Linked DNA regions of Homo sapiens: regions 2, 3, 4 and 5 are each linked to region 1. Evidence: promoter capture Hi-C in 16 types of primary human blood cells and fetal thymus (Javierre and others, 2016). All regions are on one chromosome and are shown on one strand. Each heading gives the region's core, a stretch centred on a gene start or on the middle of the fragment in contact. The rest is flanking DNA. Distances are from core to core; before and after follow the strand shown.

The links. Contacts are between HindIII fragments. The CHiCAGO score rates a contact against its expected background, and 5 or more counts as called.
Region 2: a contact is called between a fragment that was not itself captured here and the fragment with the promoter of OR5A2 in region 1, in 1 of 17 cell types (M1 macrophages). The highest score is 5.0, in M1 macrophages.
Region 3: a contact is called between a fragment that was not itself captured here and the fragment with the promoter of OR5A2 in region 1, in 1 of 17 cell types (M1 macrophages). The highest score is 5.5, in M1 macrophages.
Region 4: a fragment that was not itself captured here is called in contact with the fragment with the promoter of OR5A2 in region 1 in 4 of 17 cell types (M1 macrophages, monocytes, naive B cells and 1 more); the score reaches 10.6 in M1 macrophages.
Region 5: a contact is called between a fragment that was not itself captured here and the fragment with the promoter of OR5A2 in region 1, in 7 of 17 cell types (monocytes, M1 macrophages, naive B cells and 4 more). The highest score is 17.1, in monocytes.

The regions. Positions count from the first base shown.
Region 1 is chr11:59,424,591-59,428,215 of GRCh38, forward strand. OR5A2 (olfactory receptor family 5 subfamily A member 2) reads right to left here and starts at 1,823. Exons shown (of 2, transcript NM_001001954.2): 1 at 1,581-1,823. The HindIII fragment of the contact is 12,260 bases long and covers 1-3,625 here.
Region 2 is chr11:59,063,288-59,066,912 of GRCh38, forward strand. No RefSeq gene overlaps it. Among named protein-coding and RNA genes, the nearest start is that of GLYATL1-AS1, 6.6 kb to the left of the region's middle. The HindIII fragment of the contact is 474 bases long and covers 1,833-2,306 here.
Region 3 is chr11:59,101,385-59,105,009 of GRCh38, forward strand. It overlaps LOC105369315 (a long non-coding RNA gene), which reads right to left. Exons shown (of 3, transcript XR_007062680.1): 1 at 1-3,625. Among named protein-coding and RNA genes, the nearest start is that of FAM111B, 4.0 kb to the right of the region's middle. RefSeq lists enhancers at 1,136-1,636, 1,147-1,266. The HindIII fragment of the contact is 1,355 bases long and covers 882-2,236 here.
Region 4 is chr11:59,130,085-59,133,709 of GRCh38, forward strand. No RefSeq gene overlaps it. Among named protein-coding and RNA genes, the nearest start is that of FAM111A-DT, 11 kb to the right of the region's middle. The HindIII fragment of the contact is 174 bases long and covers 1,917-2,090 here.
Region 5 is chr11:59,152,226-59,155,850 of GRCh38, forward strand. It overlaps FAM111A (FAM111 trypsin like peptidase A), which reads left to right. Exons shown (of 6, transcript NM_001312909.2): 6 at 1-2,814. The coding sequence ends at 1,279. Among named protein-coding and RNA genes, the nearest start is that of FAM111A, 11 kb to the left of the region's middle. RefSeq lists an enhancer at 358-487. The HindIII fragment of the contact is 3,767 bases long and covers 51-3,625 here.

The sequences.
Region 1 (3,625 bases), core at 573-3,072:
CTCAAAAAAAAAAGGAAATTTTTTTTAAAAATTAGGAAATACAAATGCGTATAAAGAGGCAGAAATGCCCTGAGAAAGACTCAGTGGTGAAATTAAGGTTGCTGTATTTTATTATTTGTATGGAATTTGTTTGCCCATGCATGTTTGCACCCAATGGTAACTGTGGTTCTGTGTCACTTATCATATTAAAAACTGCTCCTAGCTTTGTGTTTTTTACAAATTTCTAATCTCCCCTCAAATCACTGGTCAAGCAGTCAAAACCAAGACGAGCCTAGATTGATCTTCACTAAAACATCAATCTATTTAATCCTATCAAAAAGGAAGTAAGAGGAATTTGGTATCTCTTATCTTGGTGAAATCTTCCCTACCAGAATGTAAGTTACTCAAAGACAGGCAGGGAGTTTTGCCCATTCTGTTTCCTGATCTATCCTTGTAACCACCCAATGGGTTCACCTTGCCCACTGCCTAGACAGAGCTCATTTATCAAGACAGGGGAATTGCAATGGAGAAAGAGTAATTCAGGCAGAGCTGGTTGTGCAGGAGGACTGGAGTTTTATTATTACTCAAATTAGTCTCCCTGAGCATCAGGGATCAGAGTTTTTAAAGATAATTTGGCGAGTAGGGGCTTGGGAAGTGGGGAATGCTGATTGGTTAGGCTGGAGATGGAATCAAATGGGTCGAAGTGAGTTTTTCTTGCTGTCTTCTGTTCCTGGGTGGGATGGCAGAACTGGTTGAGCCAGTTAACGGGTCTGGGTGGTGTCAGCTGATCCATCTAGTGCAGGGTCTGCAAAATATCTCAAGCACTGATCTTAGGTTTTACAGTAGTGATGTTATCCCCGGGGCCAATTTGGGAAGGTTTATACTCTTGGAGTCAGAGGCTGCATGACCCCTAAACAGTAATTTCTAATCTTGCAGCTAATTTGTTAGTCCTGCAAAGACAGACTGGTCCCTAGGCAAAAGGGGGGTCTCTTCAGGAAAGAGCTGCTATTAATTTTGTTTCAGAGTCAAACCATGAACTGAATTCCTTCCCAAAGTTACTTCAGCTTATGCCCAAGAATGGACAAAGACAGCTTAAAGATTAGAAGCAAGATGGAGTCAGGTAGATATGATTTCTTTGACTGTCATAATTTCCTCAGTTATAATTTTGCAAAGACAGTTTTATCATAAGTACAAAGAACAGGGCCTGGGACATAGGTGCCCACTAAATATTTTGCTGAATAAATAGATTTTTTTCCACCACTTATCCTCAGAGTTTACCAGAAGGGTTTGGCCTATGACTTACTATATTTGGTGTGTTACTATTATAAGAACAAAACACATAATATATAATTAATCACAAACAATAATCATATAACGATCATAATATAATAATATAATCAAACACTTATTTAGTACTTATTGTGTGCGAGGTACTGTTTGAAAGACTTGATTTTTATAAACCCATTTAATTCTCCTAATAGACTCAAGAAGTGGCAGCGTTTCTCGCCCCATTTTACAAATAAAAGGTAGAATAGGCTGTAAATGCATAGTTGTGATTTGCTGCTGAATGGATGAGGTAGGAGGGAATGAGCTGGACTTACTGGATTGCATTGGGCAGAAGGGTCCTGCAATCTTGTGCTACAAGAGAAGAAATATTGATTGCTTTGTTGCCATAACATCTTTTGCAAACCAGATCATCTGCATTTCCCACTGCTCCATGGCTGGTTTCTCGTTCCATCAATTTCTTATGCTTTGGCCTCATGTAAATAGTAAACCATGCTTCTGGAATCTCCGCTCCTTTGTTAACAAGTCTTCCAAATAAATGGGCTGTGGGAGTTCATTATTTTAATGGGCAGAGGTAGCCACATTCTTTCCCCAAGAGGCTGCCCTCTGCCACTCACTCCAGGGTCCAACATAAAAAGCCCAGCAATCATTAGAGCTAAACATTTCTGAGCACTAATTGTTCCCTGGAGTGGTGGCGAAAAGAGCCAACCGCTCATCACGGGAGCCTCTTTCCATCCCCCTACCTATTCTTCTCTGAGCTTTCCCTGATTTGAGTCCAGGAAGACTCCCTGCTGGGTTAGTAGATGCCTTTTGCTTAAAAGAAATTTCATCAGAAGTAAATCACACATAAACACACCAAGCCTTGTGCTGAAATATACTGGTTAGAAACACATGTTTCCAACTCTGAGAATTGGGTTTAAATTCTGGCTCTGCCCTTTTATCAATATAAACATGTTCAATGTTGTTTAATGTCTTAAACTTATCAACTCCCTCATTTGTAAAACTGGTGTAACAAGAATACCTACCTCAACAGAGTTGTGATAATTAAATAAGCTGTGAATAAGAAAGGCTTAGCACAGTGCCTAACAAACAGAAATCACTCAATGAATGTAAACTAATGATGTCATTAACTCTGTTTCTTGGGTCATGGCCAAAAATATGTCTTTCCTTTCTATCTTTTTATTGTGACTTATTTGCATCACGATGAAAAGATTTCTTTTCTCTTTATTTTTTTTAATGAGGCTGGATGGGATGAAGGGCTTGATGGGGCTCTTCTTTTCTCTTTTTAATATTTTGGGTGCTACTACCAGCAATGCCACTACCTGGATGAGTCACTGTGGGCAAGTCAATTAACCCCTCCAGCCTGAGTGAATTGGGCTCACTCTCCAAGAATTCCTCCAGCCCTGAAAGTCTGATGTTTCAAAACATTGATTTCCTGTTTTTTTAAATGTTTTCTTCAGAAATAAAGTTTATAAAAAATGAATTCATCTATTTCATGGAGACTAAGTCAGCAATCCTCAGTCTCAAAAGAAAAAAAATTAAATGAGAGAAATGTCTTCTATATAAAGGGGTATAATTACTGAGACTCTTGACTTACAAGGTAACAGGCTTAATTTAGGGAAGAAATTTAGCAACTAAGACTGTTGACAGAAACGGAGGTAAATGTCTTCAAGAATCAACTGTGAACATGAAAAGGCAAGGAAGTCCATCCTCAAAAGAAACATTCTTATCTAAGTTTGAAGATAAACTGTCCTAGGAAATTCTGATGCTGAAAGAGTAAACCCCAACTAACTATGAAAGAGTTTGATACTGAGTTAAGATCTGGGAAATTTAAAAGGTAGATCTCACAGTTATGAAGGATACATTTTTCTAGGATTAGAAAAGGCTGATAAGGGCCGGGCGCGGTGGCTCATGCCTGTAATCCCAGCACTTTGGGAGGCCGAGGCGGGCAGATCACGAGGTCAGGAAATTGAGACTATCCTAGTTAACACGGTGAAACCCCGTCTCTACTAAAAATACAAACAAAAAAAAAATTAGCCAGGCGTGGTGGCGGGCACCTGTAGTCCCAGCTACTCAGGAGGCTGAGGCAGGAGAATGGCATGAACCCGGGAGGCAGAGCTTGCAGTGAGCCGAGATCGCGCCACTGCACTCCAGCCTGGACGACAGAGAGAGACTCCGTCTCAAAAAAAAAAAGAAAAAGAAAAAGAAAAGGCTGATAAGATAGGGTAGTGATAGATTTCATCTGTCATGGCAACTCTGATTATAGTGATAATGACTATCTACAAAGTAAGATTGAGAATCTTAAGAATAAAGAGCAATAATTTCTTTTGCACCAGTTTGGATGGAGCTGGAGGCCATTATT
Region 2 (3,625 bases), core at 820-3,319, 360 kb before region 1:
CCTTCACTGTCTGGAGTGATGATAATTGGCTTCCAAAGTGGATGAGAGATGAGTCATTTACATCCAATGAGGGAAAAACAGCCTCCAGAGACTCTTCGTCCATTGGCCAGTGAGAGTGTCAATTCCCAGGCTCCTGCCGCACGCGGGCGAGCCCTTCTAGGCGGGAAAAGTTCAGCTGAGAGATATAAGAGAGCAGACTTTCCAGCACCTGTGAATCCAGAGCGGTGGGCACTGACGGGCACGTGCACCGTGTGGACAGACTCTCCAGTTCTATGAGTGGTTTTTCTTTTCCCGGGTCGGACCTGGAGTTCTTAAGAGGATGGCTGACAAGGGCAGTAGGCAGAAGGACCTCAGCCCAAAGTCAAGGAGGTTTTGGATGGGGAGCTGGGCAGCCGCCCGTTGTAATTCCCTTCCCGTCTCAGCTTCAAAGGCCAAGAGTTGTACTCCTGAAAAGATACTTGGAGATCATCTGGGTGTTCCTGAATCTCAAGAGGGTCGTTTGACCCTGGTGGGTCCTTTCCCTACCCGGTGCCTTTCTCGCCCGTAGAAGGAGACCAGGTTCGGTTAAGCAGAGCAGAAACTATTCACTGATCAAGGAATGGAGTAGGAGAGCTCCTGCTCAAAGTGCCTGGGGTGTAGTGTGGGGGTGCTCCTTAAGGTCTTTTAGGGCACGTAGTTGGAAAGCAAGGATTCCTGGAAAGAGATGGGGCTTTCCAGAACCAGCTGAGTGTGGCAGTCTCCTATTTGCTGTTGCCGCCCAACACTACATGTGCCTAGCAAGCTGCATTTCTCCCGTAGGCACAGATTGAGGTATGGTAATTAGCAATTGAGGATTCAGGTTAGGGTAGCGCTTCTAAGTTCGTTTCCCATCTTGTAGCACGGTGGTTACTGACATCCAGTCTCTGTTTCTGTAAGCAAGCACAGCTTCAAGCACAGGTTACCTTAATTGGTTCTGGGGCTTTAGGAAAGCATTGAGGTCATCCTGCGGTGACAGAGGCAGCTGTTCAAAGAACTTGGTGCGAGTTTGAGGCAGGGGTTGTGGAGTGAGGCAGGTAAAAATGCAGATTCCATAGCCACACCCCGACATACTGAATCAGAGTCTGTGAGGGTGGGATCTGGAATCCTTTTTAAAAAGCTCAGAGGAACCAATTCACACGAACAATAAAAGTTTCATCTGAGCCAAAGACCTTAATCTAGAAATGAGAAAACGGGGATCCCCAAAAGGGTTACAGGGAGAGGGTTGGAGGAAAGTTAGACTATGACAGTTTTAGGGTGGTTCTTTCCTGGCCTTGGGAAGTTTTCTCAGCTGCTGCTCTGATCAGTACGCAGCTGAATGCTTTAGGGGAACCCTCTTCATATATCCGGAGTTCCCTCTCTGTGCAGGTCTCCCACCAGGGTCTGTGGCCCGTGACCTCTTGCCACCCTGGTCTCTCCGCTTTGTCTCCTCAAATCTAGAATTCCAACTGGCTTTGTCTTGCTGCCCTTCCTTGCGACACTGGCCTGGAATCCTTCAAGTTAGTCTGCTAGCGTGGATTGTAGGATGCATCTCAGTTGTCACTATCCTTAATTGCATGATGTCCAGTTCCTCGCAAAGCGTTGTTTCATATATTTTGCCCATTTTTGTTTTGTTTTGCTTTCAGACTAGGGGGAAATCCAGTCCCTGTTCTTCCATTTTGGCCAGAAATTCAAGGTAATGACTTTTAATATTTCTGACTACTAGTTCCATCATCTCTCTCACTTCTGGATCTGTCTCTATTCACTGATGTTCCTAGTCATTATGGGTCATATTTATCCACTTCTTAAATGCTTGCTGATTGTTTTATTAGATATCAAGCTTTGTTAATTTCACAACTTTGGGTGCCAGAAATTTTTACCTTCCCATCAATATTCTTGAACTTTATTTTAGTACCTTGATATTTTACATGGAAACCATTTTATAATTTCAAAGTTTGCTTTTATTTGTTAGGTGGGAGCAGAACTAGGGCTAATTTTGTCCCACTGTGGAAGAAATACCTTTCAGAGTAGTCTCTCTGATATTTCATGAATTGTGAAATTTTCTAGTCAGATTTTTGTGAACTGAATCTATTCCCTGTCCTGTATGAGCCTCAGAAATTGTTACATCTGCTCCTTTTGGGTACTTCTTTTTCCTGTTCCTTTTCAACAGCTTTATTCCACTCATGCATTGACCAAGCTGAAATCTCAAGGGATACCCACTGCAGATCTCTGATACTATGTGCTCCTGTGGCTCTCTTCTCCCTAGTACTCTGCCATACAAGCTCCAGTCAGCCTGGCCTCCCAAAACTCCAAGCTTGTCTTCTCAACTCAGGGAAACTGCTAGACTCTGCCTGTTCTCTTGCCTAAGATATGCCTTGGAAACTCCATACAGTAACCTAAATAGCCACAGGGCTTACCTCATATGATTTTCTTCTCAGATATCAGAGATGAGGTCCCACACAGCCTGATGTCCAATGATTGAGAGTTGTTATTTCACAGATCTTTCCTTTTTGGGTTTTTTTTAGACATTTCATGTGGCAGAATGAACTCAATCCTTGTTTCTCCATCTTATCCACTAGTAAATATTAGTTATATTCTCTTCGAATTCATCATGAATTCCATGAAGACTGAAGAAAACAAGTCACTTAGTGCCACAAAAGATGACCCGAGGACTAGACCTGAAGTTTCAAAGGTATATCTACTTTTTTACAACTCCTCAGAGGAGTGATAGTCTAACCATAGTGCCATATGAGGTTCTTGGAGATAAGTTCTTAAACAATGGTCGTTATAAGCCTTTCTCTTAGGTAGTTTAAAATATATTTGGGTAGCTCATACACATAAGTGCTTGTGGAAAGCATAATGATAGAGTATGAGTTAATAATGCTAAACGTGTCTTAAGACAACAAGATGACTAACAAATAATATAGACACTTAAAATCATGGAAAGTATAGACAGGCAAAAATAATTAGCTAATGTTTTCTGAGGAAACACTGTGTGCCTGGAATTGTGTCCCATCATATGGATTATCCCATTTAACAGTTAATAGAACTGTGCAGTAGTTATTATCATACTTATTTTACAAAAGAAGAAACTGAAGCTCAACTTGCTTATAGTTGCAGAAGTAACGGACTTCAAAGCAAGGATCTTAACCTAGGCAGTCAGACTACAGAGACTGGTTTTTGACCCACACTATTTTGCTCAAAATATGCAAAATGATAATACTAAATTGAGATATAAACAAGTGATTTTAGAGTACAGAGAGAAGAATACTTAATTCAGACTAAGGAAACTACAGCAGCATCATATGAGAAATGATTTATTAATGAAAAATAAATCTAAAATTGTCAAACTCATAGATGTAGAAGTGGTTGCTGGGCTGGGAAGAGAGAAAAATGGAAGTGTTAGTCAAGGGATACAAAGTTTCCTTACACAAGGTGAATAAGTTGTAGGGATCTGAACAGCATGAGTGCCAATAGTTAACACTATTGTGCACTCAAATTCTTGCTAAAATGATAGATTTTATGTTGTGTTCTTATTACAAAAATAATAAATAAGAGGGCAGGAAGAGACTTTGGGAGGTGATAGATAGGTCGATGTCATAGAATGTGGTGATCATGTATCTTCACATTC
Region 3 (3,625 bases), core at 309-2,808, 320 kb before region 1:
TGACAACGAGCTTCTGAAAGGCAAGGATAGGTCTCACCCATCTCTGTATCTTCAGAATCCATCATATTATGTGGAACATAACAGGTATCAATAGTATGTTGGGGGGAAAAATCGAAACCATGCTGAGCACCGGAATTCTGGGTAAATCTTTTTAAAAAATCTCTTCTACTTTACATCAGAGTCCCTTTTGTATTTTTAGTATCATCCAGCCCCACGCCTTGCAGATGAGCCCCTAAGAAATGAATGGGTGAATGAATGTGTGGACAGCGGGATGGATCAGTGAGTGAGGAGCAGTGATTCGCAGGACCTGCATGCATTGAAATCCTGCCAAAGCAGCCTCTGCAAAATAAAAGACCTTAGGCTTTGGTTTCTGACACAAGTTAAAATTATCCAAGGACTGTCCTTGGGCCACTTAGTTGAGGTTTCCTAATCTGTGAAACAGAAAGTGAATTCAATAGAAAGATGATTCAGACAAACTTACTGAAGGTGCCAAAGCAGGATGCCTGGCATTGAGGGACGCTTCACACCTGTTATCTCTCTCCCTATTCTCTCTTCACCCCTATTCCCGCCCGGCAGCTCTCCGCTGTCAGCGCCAGAAATACTTACCTGCTGAGAAAAGGAAAAGCACAACACTGACTTTACCCCGCGACGCTTTTAAAAAATCCAAAATACCCAGCGCGATGGGGAGTAGGTTTCCCTAAAGACAGGTGGAGCAGCCATAGTTAACTTAGAGGAAGGTGAATTGACAAAGAGGGTTGAGCCACTACGAGTGGGAGTTACCTTGGACTAACAGTTGTATCTTCAGCGAGCACATGTCCTGGAATCTCCCACGCCCATCCCTTTTTTTAGCGCCACAAATGCAGCCTCCTAAGAGAATGGGAAGCTTGGGAGTCAGAGAACCGAAGATTGAGCTACCATTGACCTTAATGGATGTCAGTCTTCACTTGTCGCTTTTTTTCCTTCCTCGCCTCCTTGCCCCGCCCTATCCCTGTAGGCGCGTTCTCCCGCGACATCAAATGGCAGCATGCGGGACTACACCAAATGCGGAAAGGCGCCTTCCCCTGCCCTGAGTATCTGCAAACCCGGGGCTGGGCTGGGTTTTTAAGGGCTGGGCTCGCGTGCGAGGAGCGGTGCTAAAAAGGGGCTGCCTGCGCAGATGTCATTCCCACAAGATGCAAGTAAAGAAGCACCGCGGACGCCCGGGGAGGGTCACAGAGCGACAGGAGGGGTTGTTGACCAGGTGACTGGCCTCACTTCTGACAAATGCAAATTACCCAGCCACAGTCCAACCAAGGGTATCAAAACAGGATCTCTGCAGATGGAGCTCAGTGTTATGTGTTTTGGACAGCTCGCAATAAGATTTTCATGCATCATAAACTTTCCCTGAGTATCTCAGCCAGTTTTGTGGATGCCGAGGTTTGTTCAAAGCTGCAGATTACTGGGCCTCACCCCAGACCTACTCTACTTAAATATAGTGGGGTTCCCATAATCCCCATTTTACAAAACCTATCCAAGTTAAAGTACAGAGAATCACAAACTGGAAGAACTCCTTAATTTACAAATAAGGAATGGAGACCCCCCCCCACCAAGAGAGAACGGAATTTGCCCAAGGTCCCCCTGAAAGAGCCTAAGAAAACGTGAGGCTCTAAGGTTAAAATCCTACCTGACACCCTTTCCTTTCCCCAACTAGTCCTGTGACCTCTAGCAAACTATCCTGTCCTGATCTGTGAAATGGGAGCAACAGTCCCACCTACCCCAACTGGTGACTGCGAATATTAAATGGGGCCACAATGAGTCAACTCCAAGCACCACCCCACTGGAAGTTGAGGTTGAACTAATTCTAGATCGCCCTACCCCCATTCATCTCCCAGTACCATTGTATGACCGTGGAGGTGAAACCATCCAGCCGCCTGTTGGTCCCAAACCATGTTCACCTCCACCCGTGGCTCAGTGACTATTTCTTTTCTTGAAGAGAGAGAGAGGCTCCTTGGAGCCTCTGGAGTCTGGAGGGGAATGTTACCTTCCCCATGCCTGCATTGTCTTCCCAAGATAGGATGGACTATGGGGTCTCCATGAGGTTAGCTGCTGGGGCATCAAGGCTAGCTCCTAAGTGGTTGCTGGAGGCTTAGAGACCCCACTCCAGCTCTCTCTCAAATGGGGGCAGCTTGTTTGCAGCAGTGAGTGAGGTGGGCCAACTATGAACCCATGGGAGGAGAGGAAAAGACCATCCCATCTAAGCTTTTACATACCCCATTGCAAGCTCCAGAATGTGGTGCCCAGGCCCATATCTATAACCCACCCCCAGAGGCCAATTCTCCTCAGCCTTTCCTGCCCTTTCTGCCGTTGTACAGCCAGTTTCCATGCTCTCTTCTATCAAACTCCTACTCATCTCTCAGCCATCTAGTCCAAATATAAATCTTTCTCTGTGATATACTCTCAAGGTAGAGGCAGTGGTGCCTTCCTCTGTATTCCGAGAACATGTCATCTGCACCTCTACATACAGACATCATCCTACTGGTAGTGTTCCAGAGCATCTTTTAGGGGTTCATGAAGGAATCACTCTTCGTAAACACTGGCCTTATTCCCTAACTTCACCAGACCTGACCTTAGTGCATGATCCATTCCCACCTCTCCCAACCACATGAGAGCCTTTTCCTCTTTATGGGTTTACAAAACACAAACTGACCCAACCACCAGTTACTGGCCAAAAGCATTCTTGTCACATTTATAATAAAATCCAGCCAACAGGATACTTTGTGCCAAGGGAATGTTCCTTTTCAGGGCAAACACTCTGTCCCCAGGGATGTTAGACAACTTCCATAGCCCCAGATAAGCATTAGCTAGAAGTGAGTTTTCTTTGGTGGCCCAACAGATTCCCTGAGCATCCCTACTCTGTCACTGATTCCAGTTGCAGTGGGATTGCATCAAAGCTCTCAGAGCACAGCTGCAAAGGGTAAAGCAAAGCTAGAGCTCTACTCTGGACCTATCACTCTAGACAGTTTCTCTGTGAGGGGCAGTTTTATACGTAAGGAAGAAATGGAAGATTACTCCCAAAATGGCCTCAGGGTACTTATCCCAATTGTGTGGTTCAGTTGCTACTCCAGTGATGAGCAAATAAACAGGAAATAGAAGCACAACTATTCCTAAGCTCAAGAAGCAGGGAAGCTCAGGAATTGGTGTGCAGCAGTGCTGCTTGGAGCGCCATTACAAAGGGACAAGCACGGTCCACTGGGAGGTAAAATTCAGGGAATCTAAGACACAGGGGGTATGGGAAACAAGGCAGGCTTTTGTATTTATCATTTGCCGTGATATCTCTCTGTGAACTTTCTTTTAATTTTCCCTGTACTTTAATTATATTTCTTAGGCCTGACGTGGTGGCTTACATCTGTAATCCCAGTACTTTGGGAGGCTGAGGCAGGCAGAGCACCTGAGGCCAGGAGTTCGACCCCAGCCTGGCCAACATGATGAAACCCCATCTCCACTAGAAAAACAAAAGTTAGCTGGGCATGGTGGCAGGCTCCTGTAATCCCAGCTGCTCAGGAGGCTGAGGTATGAGAATCGCTTGAACACAGGAGGTGGAGGTTGCAGTGAACCGACATCATGCCACTGCACTCCAGCCTGAGCA
Region 4 (3,625 bases), core at 754-3,253, 290 kb before region 1:
AATACAGAATCTCTGGAGAGTGCACCACTTCAAAAACTAAACCAAAGTCATGTTTCATCTTTTATTAAGAAATTTTAAAATCCATTCCAACAGAGTTTTTGATGACAGAGTTTAGCAATTTCTGATAATGATCTCTACATACAACTTGTCTTTTCCACCTAACCGTGTAACCAGGCTTGTGATGGGAGGAGCTGCCACTAAGTTCTCTGACATGCCCTGGAGACATTTTCCCCATTGTCTTGGCAATTAAGATTTGGCTTCTCGTTACTTATGCAAATTTCTGTAGCTAGCTTGAGTTTCTTCCCAGAAAATGGGTTTTTCTTTTCTACCATATGGTCAGGCTGCAAATTTTCCAGACTTTTACATTCTCCTTCCCTTTAAACATATGTTCCAATTTCAAATAATCTCTCTCAAGTTCTGATATGGTTTGGTTGTGTCCCCACCCAAATCTCATCTTGAACTGTAGCTCCCATAATCCCCACATGTCCTGGGAGGGACCCAGTGGGTGGTAATTGAATCACGGGGATGAGTTTTTTCTATGCTGTTCTTGCAATAGTGAATAAGTCTCACAAGATCTGATAGTTATATAGGAGAGTTCCCCTACACATGCTCCCTCTTGCCTGCTGCCATGTAAGATGTGCCTTTGCTCCTCTTTCATCTTCCACCATGATTGTGAGTCCTCCCCACCCATGTAGAACTCTGAGTCCATTAAACCCCTTTTTCTTTATAAATTACCCAGTCTCAGGTATTTCTTCATAGTAGTATGAAAATGGACTAATACAGTAAATTGGTATCACAGAGAGTGGGGTGCTGCTGTAAACATACCTGAAAATGTGGAAGCAACTTTGGAACTGGGTAACAGGCAGAGGTTGGAAAAGGTTAGGGGGCTCAGAAGAAGACAGGAAAATGTGGGAAAGTTTGGAACTTCATAGAGACTTGTCGAATGCCTTTGCCCAAAATGTGATAGTGATACCGACAATAAATTCCAGGCTGACATGGTCTCAGACAGAGATGAGGAACTTGGGCACTGGGGCAAAGGTCATTCTTGCTATGCTTTAGCAAAGAGGCTGGTGGCATTTTGCCCCACCCTAGAGATCTGTGGAACTTTGAACTTGAGAGAGATGATTTAGGGTATCTGGAAGAAGAAATTTCTAAGCACCAAAGCATTCAAGATGTGACTTGGGTACTCTTAAAAGCATTCAGTTTTAGTCATTCACAAAGATATCATTTGGAATTGGAACTTATGTTTAAAAGGGAAGCAGATCATAAAAGTTCAGAAAATTTGCAGCCCGTCGATGTGATAGAAGATAAAACCTCATTTTCTGAGGGTAAATTTAAGCCAGCTGCAGAAATCTGCATAAGTAACAAGGAGCCAAATGTTAATCACCAAGACAATGGGGAAAATGTCTCCAGAGCATGCCAGAGGTCTGCATGACAGCCCCTCCCATCACAGGCCCAGAGGCCTAGAAGGAAAAAGTGGTTTCATGGGCTAAACCCCAGGTCTTGCTGCTTTGTGCAGTCTTAGAACTTGGTGCCCTGTGTCCCAGCTGTGGCTAAAAGGGGCCAAGATATAGCTCAGGCCATTGACTCAGAGGGTGCAAGCCCCAAGCCTTGGTGCCTTACACATGGTGTTGGGCCTGCAGGTGAACAGAAGTAAAGAATTGAGGTTTGGGAACCTCCACCTAGATTTCACAGGATGTATGGAAACGCCTGGATATCCAGGCAGAAGTTTGCTGCAGGGGTGGAGCCCTCATGGAGAACCTCTGCTAGGGCAGTGCAGAAGGGAAATGTGAGGTGGTAGCCCCCACAGAGAGTCCCCCCGAGACACTGCCTAGTGTAGCTGTGAGAAGAGGGCCACCATCCTCCAAACGCCAGAATGGTAAATCCACCAACAGCTTGCACCATGCTCCTGGAAAAGCTTCATGCCAGACTGTGAGTTTGCCCAATGTCCATTTTCATGCCAGCTCATGAAAGCAGCCGGGGAAGGGGGAGTGGGCTGTACCCTGCAAAGCCACAGGGGCAGAGCTGCCCAGGACCATGGGAACCCACCTCTTGCATCAGTGTGACCTGGATGTGAGGCATATAGTCAAAGCTTATTTTGGAGCTTTAAGATTTGACTGCCCTGCTGGATTTTGGACTTGCATGGGGGCTGTGGCCCTTTTGTTTTGGCAATTTATCCCATTTGGAATGGGTATATTTACCCAAAGCCTCTACCCCCATTATATCTAGGAAGTAACTGACTTGCTTTTGATTTTACAGGCTCATAGGTGGAAGGGACTTGCCTTGTCTCAGATGAGACTCTGGATTTGGACTTTTGTATTAATGCTGCAATTAGTTAAGACTTTGGGAGACGGTTGGAAGGGGATGATTGTGTTTCGAATTGTAAGGACATGAGATTTGGGAGGGACCAGGGGTGGAATTATATGGTGTGGCTCTGTCCCCACCCAAATCTCATCTTGAATTGTAGCTCCCATAATCCCCATATGTCCTGGGAGGGACCCAGTGGGAGGTAATTGAATCATGGGGGTGGGTTTTTCCTGTGCTGTTCTTGTGATAGTGAATAAGTCTCACAAGACCTGATGGTTTTATAAAGGGCAGTTCCCCTGCACATGCTCTGTTGACTGCCATCATGTAAGACACGGCTTTCCTCCTCCTTCACCTTCCACCATGATTGTGAGGCCTCCTCTGCCATGTGGAACTGTGAGTACATTAAACCTCTTTTTCTTTATAAATTACTCAATCTCAGGTACTTCTTCATAGCAGTATGAAAATGGACTAATAAAAGTTCAAAGTTCCACCGATCTCTAGGTCAGGGGTAAAATGCCTCCAGTCTCTTTGCTAAAGCATAGCAAGAGTGACATTTGCTCCAGTTTCAAATAAGTTCCTCATCTCCATATAAGAACACCTCAGCCTGTACTTCGTTGTCCATATCACTCTCAGCATCTTGGTCAAAACCATTCAGCAAGTCTCTAGGAAGTTCCACACTTTCCCACATCTTCCTGTCTTCTGAGCCCTCCAAACTGTCCCAACTTCTTCCTGTTACCCAGTTCCGAAGTGGTTTCCACATTTTTAAGTATCTTTGTGGCAGTGCCCCAAACTCCTGGTACCAATTTCCTGTATTAATCTGTTTTTACACTGCTACAAAGAAATACCCAAAACTGGGTAATTTATAAAGGAAAGAGGTTTAATTCACTCACAGTTCCACATGGCTGGGGGGCCTCAGGAAACTTACAATCATGGAATTAGGGGAAGAAAATATGTCCTTCTTCACAGGGTGGCAGGAGAGATAAAAGTGTAGTGGGAATAGCCCCTTATAAAACCATCATATCTTATGAGAACTCACTATCATGAGAACAGCATGGGCAAAACTGTCCCCATGATCCAATCACCTCCCACCAGATTCCCCCCTTGACACTTGGGGGTTATTGGGATTAAAATTCAAGATGAGATTTGGGTGGGGACACAGAGCCAAACCATATCAGTATGGCTCTTACCTTAGGGAAACCTGACAGCTTGGAAGAGATGGCTGAGTAGCTGACCAGACATTTGAGTTCGAATCGTGAAGCTGAGGGAGGAAAAAGTCAGAGTTTAAAGCCTGTCAGCTAGTAGGAAACCTAATAAACAC
Region 5 (3,625 bases), core at 684-3,183, 270 kb before region 1:
TCATGCAATTGGAATTGGGAAGTGTAAAAGAAGGATTGTTAAATGTGGGAAGCTTCACAAAAAGGGGCGCAAACTCTGTGTTTATGCTTTCAAAGGAGAAACCATCAAGGATGCACTGTGCAAGGATGGCAGATTTCTTTCCTTTCTGGAGAATGATGATTGGAAACTCATTGAAAACAATGACACCATTTTAGAAAGCACCCAGCCAGTTGATGAATTAGAAGGCAGATACTTTCAGGTTGAGGTTGAGAAAAGAATGGTCCCCAGTGCAGCAGCTTCTCAGAATCCTGAGTCAGAGAAAAGAAACACCTGTGTGTTGAGAGAACAAATCGTGGCTCAGTACCCCAGTTTGAAAAGAGAAAGTGAAAAAATCATTGAAAACTTCAAGAAAAAAATGAAAGTAAAAAATGGGGAAACATTATTTGAATTGCATAGAACAACGTTTGGGAAAGTAACAAAAAATTCTTCTTCGATTAAAGTAGTGAAACTTCTTGTACGTCTCAGTGACTCAGTTGGGTACTTATTCTGGGACAGTGCAACTACGGGTTACGCCACCTGCTTTGTTTTTAAAGGATTGTTCATTTTAACTTGTCGGCATGTAATAGATAGCATTGTGGGAGACGGAATAGAGCCAAGTAAGTGGGCAACCATAATTGGTCAATGTGTAAGGGTGACATTTGGTTATGAAGAGCTAAAAGACAAGGAAACAAACTACTTTTTTGTTGAACCTTGGTTTGAGATACATAATGAAGAGCTTGACTATGCTGTCCTGAAACTGAAGGAAAATGGACAACAAGTACCTATGGAACTATATAATGGAATTACTCCTGTGCCACTTAGTGGGTTGATACATATTATTGGCCATCCATATGGAGAAAAAAAGCAGATTGATGCTTGTGCTGTGATCCCTCAGGGTCAGCGAGCAAAGAAATGTCAGGAACGTGTTCAGTCTAAAAAAGCAGAAAGTCCAGAGTATGTCCATATGTATACTCAAAGAAGTTTCCAGAAAATAGTTCACAACCCTGATGTGATTACCTATGACACTGAATTTTTCTTTGGGGCTTCCGGCTCCCCTGTGTTTGATTCAAAAGGTTCATTGGTGGCCATGCATGCTGCTGGCTTTGCTTATACTTACCAAAATGAGACTCGTAGTATCATTGAGTTTGGCTCTACCATGGAATCCATCCTCCTTGATATTAAGCAAAGACATAAACCATGGTATGAAGAAGTATTTGTAAATCAGCAGGATGTAGAAATGATGAGTGATGAGGACTTGTGAGAATTCAGTCTACTGGATTTAAGGGAATGGCTTATGGAGTTGTTATTTCATAGGCATTGAAAATGGTTTTCTAAACTCCAAAATGGTCATCTTATCAATAATAATAATATTGACCATTTCCTATCTGCCAGGCATTTTTCTAAGCACATGAAGAAATTAGTCCTAACAACACTATGAGATGGACTATAACTTGCCCAAATTTTTTTTTTTTTTTTGAGACTGAGTCTCACTCTGTCGCCTGGGCTGGAGTACAGTGGTGCGATCTCAGCTCACTGCAACTTCCACCTCCCAGGTTCAAGCGATTCTTATGCCTCAGTCTCCTGAGCAGCTGGGATTACAGGCAAACGCCACCACACCCAGCTAAATTTTTTTTTTTTTTTTTGTATTTTTAGTAGAGACAGGGTTTCACCATGTTGGTCAGGCGGGTCTCGAACTCCTGACCTCGTGATCCACCTGCCTCGGCCTTCCAAAGTGCTGGGATTACAAGTTTGAGCCACTGCACCTGGCTAACTTGCCCTATTTTAAAGTCAAGCAATGGGAAGAATAACAAGATTATATAGTAATCAGTTTCATGACACTAAAAGTCATATAGTCATAGGGTTTTTTCATCTTTCATATCTTTGCCTAAATTCATTTGCTACAGTGCAGGAACCAAAACTTGTTCATCTCATGATTCCCTACATCTGACATAAGGAAAGTAAGTGCTCAGAAAAATGTGCAGGTCAATAAGTTGCAAAAGTTGGGGCTGCAATTAATGCTAACATAAGAGCTAAATGCTTGATTAGAAATGATCTCAAAACCTTTTAGAATTTCCAAAATCTTCATATTACTGAAACTGTCGGAATATATGGGTCTTGAAATTCAGAAGATGATAGTCACTCTTCCCATATTTATAGGCTATTAAGGCAAGGGATATCTTAAACATCATATTACTTTATTTAGATTTCTACTACTCCAATTATTAATGTTATGTATTTCTCATTGTTTTACTTCTTCATGGTATTATGAAGACTATATAGATGATTCAACCAAGCCTGCAAATCTCCCTCTTGTGGAATTCCACTGGACCCAATCTGTTTTCCATTTCCATTGCAATACTACTAAAGCCATACAATATCAAGCACCCTCCCTCTAGGTCCAGGGACTATCACAGAAGAAGCAGGCATGTAAGATTTTAAGGACTGGTTTCGAGGGGTCGAGTGTAGGAAAACAGCCTGTTGCATTGTAAGAGTGATGTCATCTTGAAGAGCAGCTGGCATGATGACTGCTGTTTGACTCCTGCATACCAAGATATTCTGCAGCAATGTCTTTAAACAGTGCCGGTAGTACAGATAACCCCTCATAAAGATGCTTATCTAACCTCCCCAGTGTTCAGGTGTTTCACAAGAAAGTCTGAGATATGACTAGCTACACGTTTTGCCAAAAATGCTTGTTATATAAAGGGTACTTTTGGGAGGGTGAGTGCCGCCATTTAGTGGCTGCTAGAAACATTGCTTCTGTTTGTAAGTTCCTATTAAATGTTTCTTTCTGAGAAACCGTATTTGTCAGCCTCTTTCTTTGGCCTCTCAGCTTCTTTGGTCTTTGGGGGTAGGTTGGGGTAGGTTTGCATTGACCTGCTCACCGTGAAACACCTGGTGACTTTTAATGAAGAATGGCATTAGAAACCAAGATCTAGGCACTAGATATGCTCATTGCTGGTGGCGTGTTGTTTCTTTTAGGCCCCCTCAGCTGACAGGGCAAAGAAATATTTGTGTGTATATTTACCCACATATGTATATGTACACATATGTATATATGCCTTGCTTATCTGTAAATTCCAACTCCAAACAGTTGGAAGCGTGATGCCTGCCATCCCTCACACATTCACTTAATTGCTTAATCCAAGTATACATATATAGCAGTGTCAGAATTGTTAACCTCTACCTCAATGGGAAATAATTTTATCAACTAGAATACAGTGCCTATGTGCAATTTCCCTGCTTTTAGTCTTATATATTCCATTCATTCCCAAAGTTATTTCAGTCACCCTGTTGTTTCTTACCTCCTTCAGTGACGTTTTATATGCTTATAGTACAGTTATACATAATATAATAGTTAGATTTTCTTGTCACAGTTTGAATTCTTTCCTTTGACCCCTTGACCTCCTAAATGATATTTTAATGTGTATTCATTGATTCACTCTGTGCTGTAAAGTTCTATGGGTTTTATCATACAGAATAGTTATATCACCCTAGAAATCTGTGCTTCACCTATGTATCCCTCATATCCCTCCCCTCTCCCCTGAACCCCAGCAAAAAAAAAAAAAAATCACTGATCTTTTTACTATCTTTATGGTTTTGCATCTTC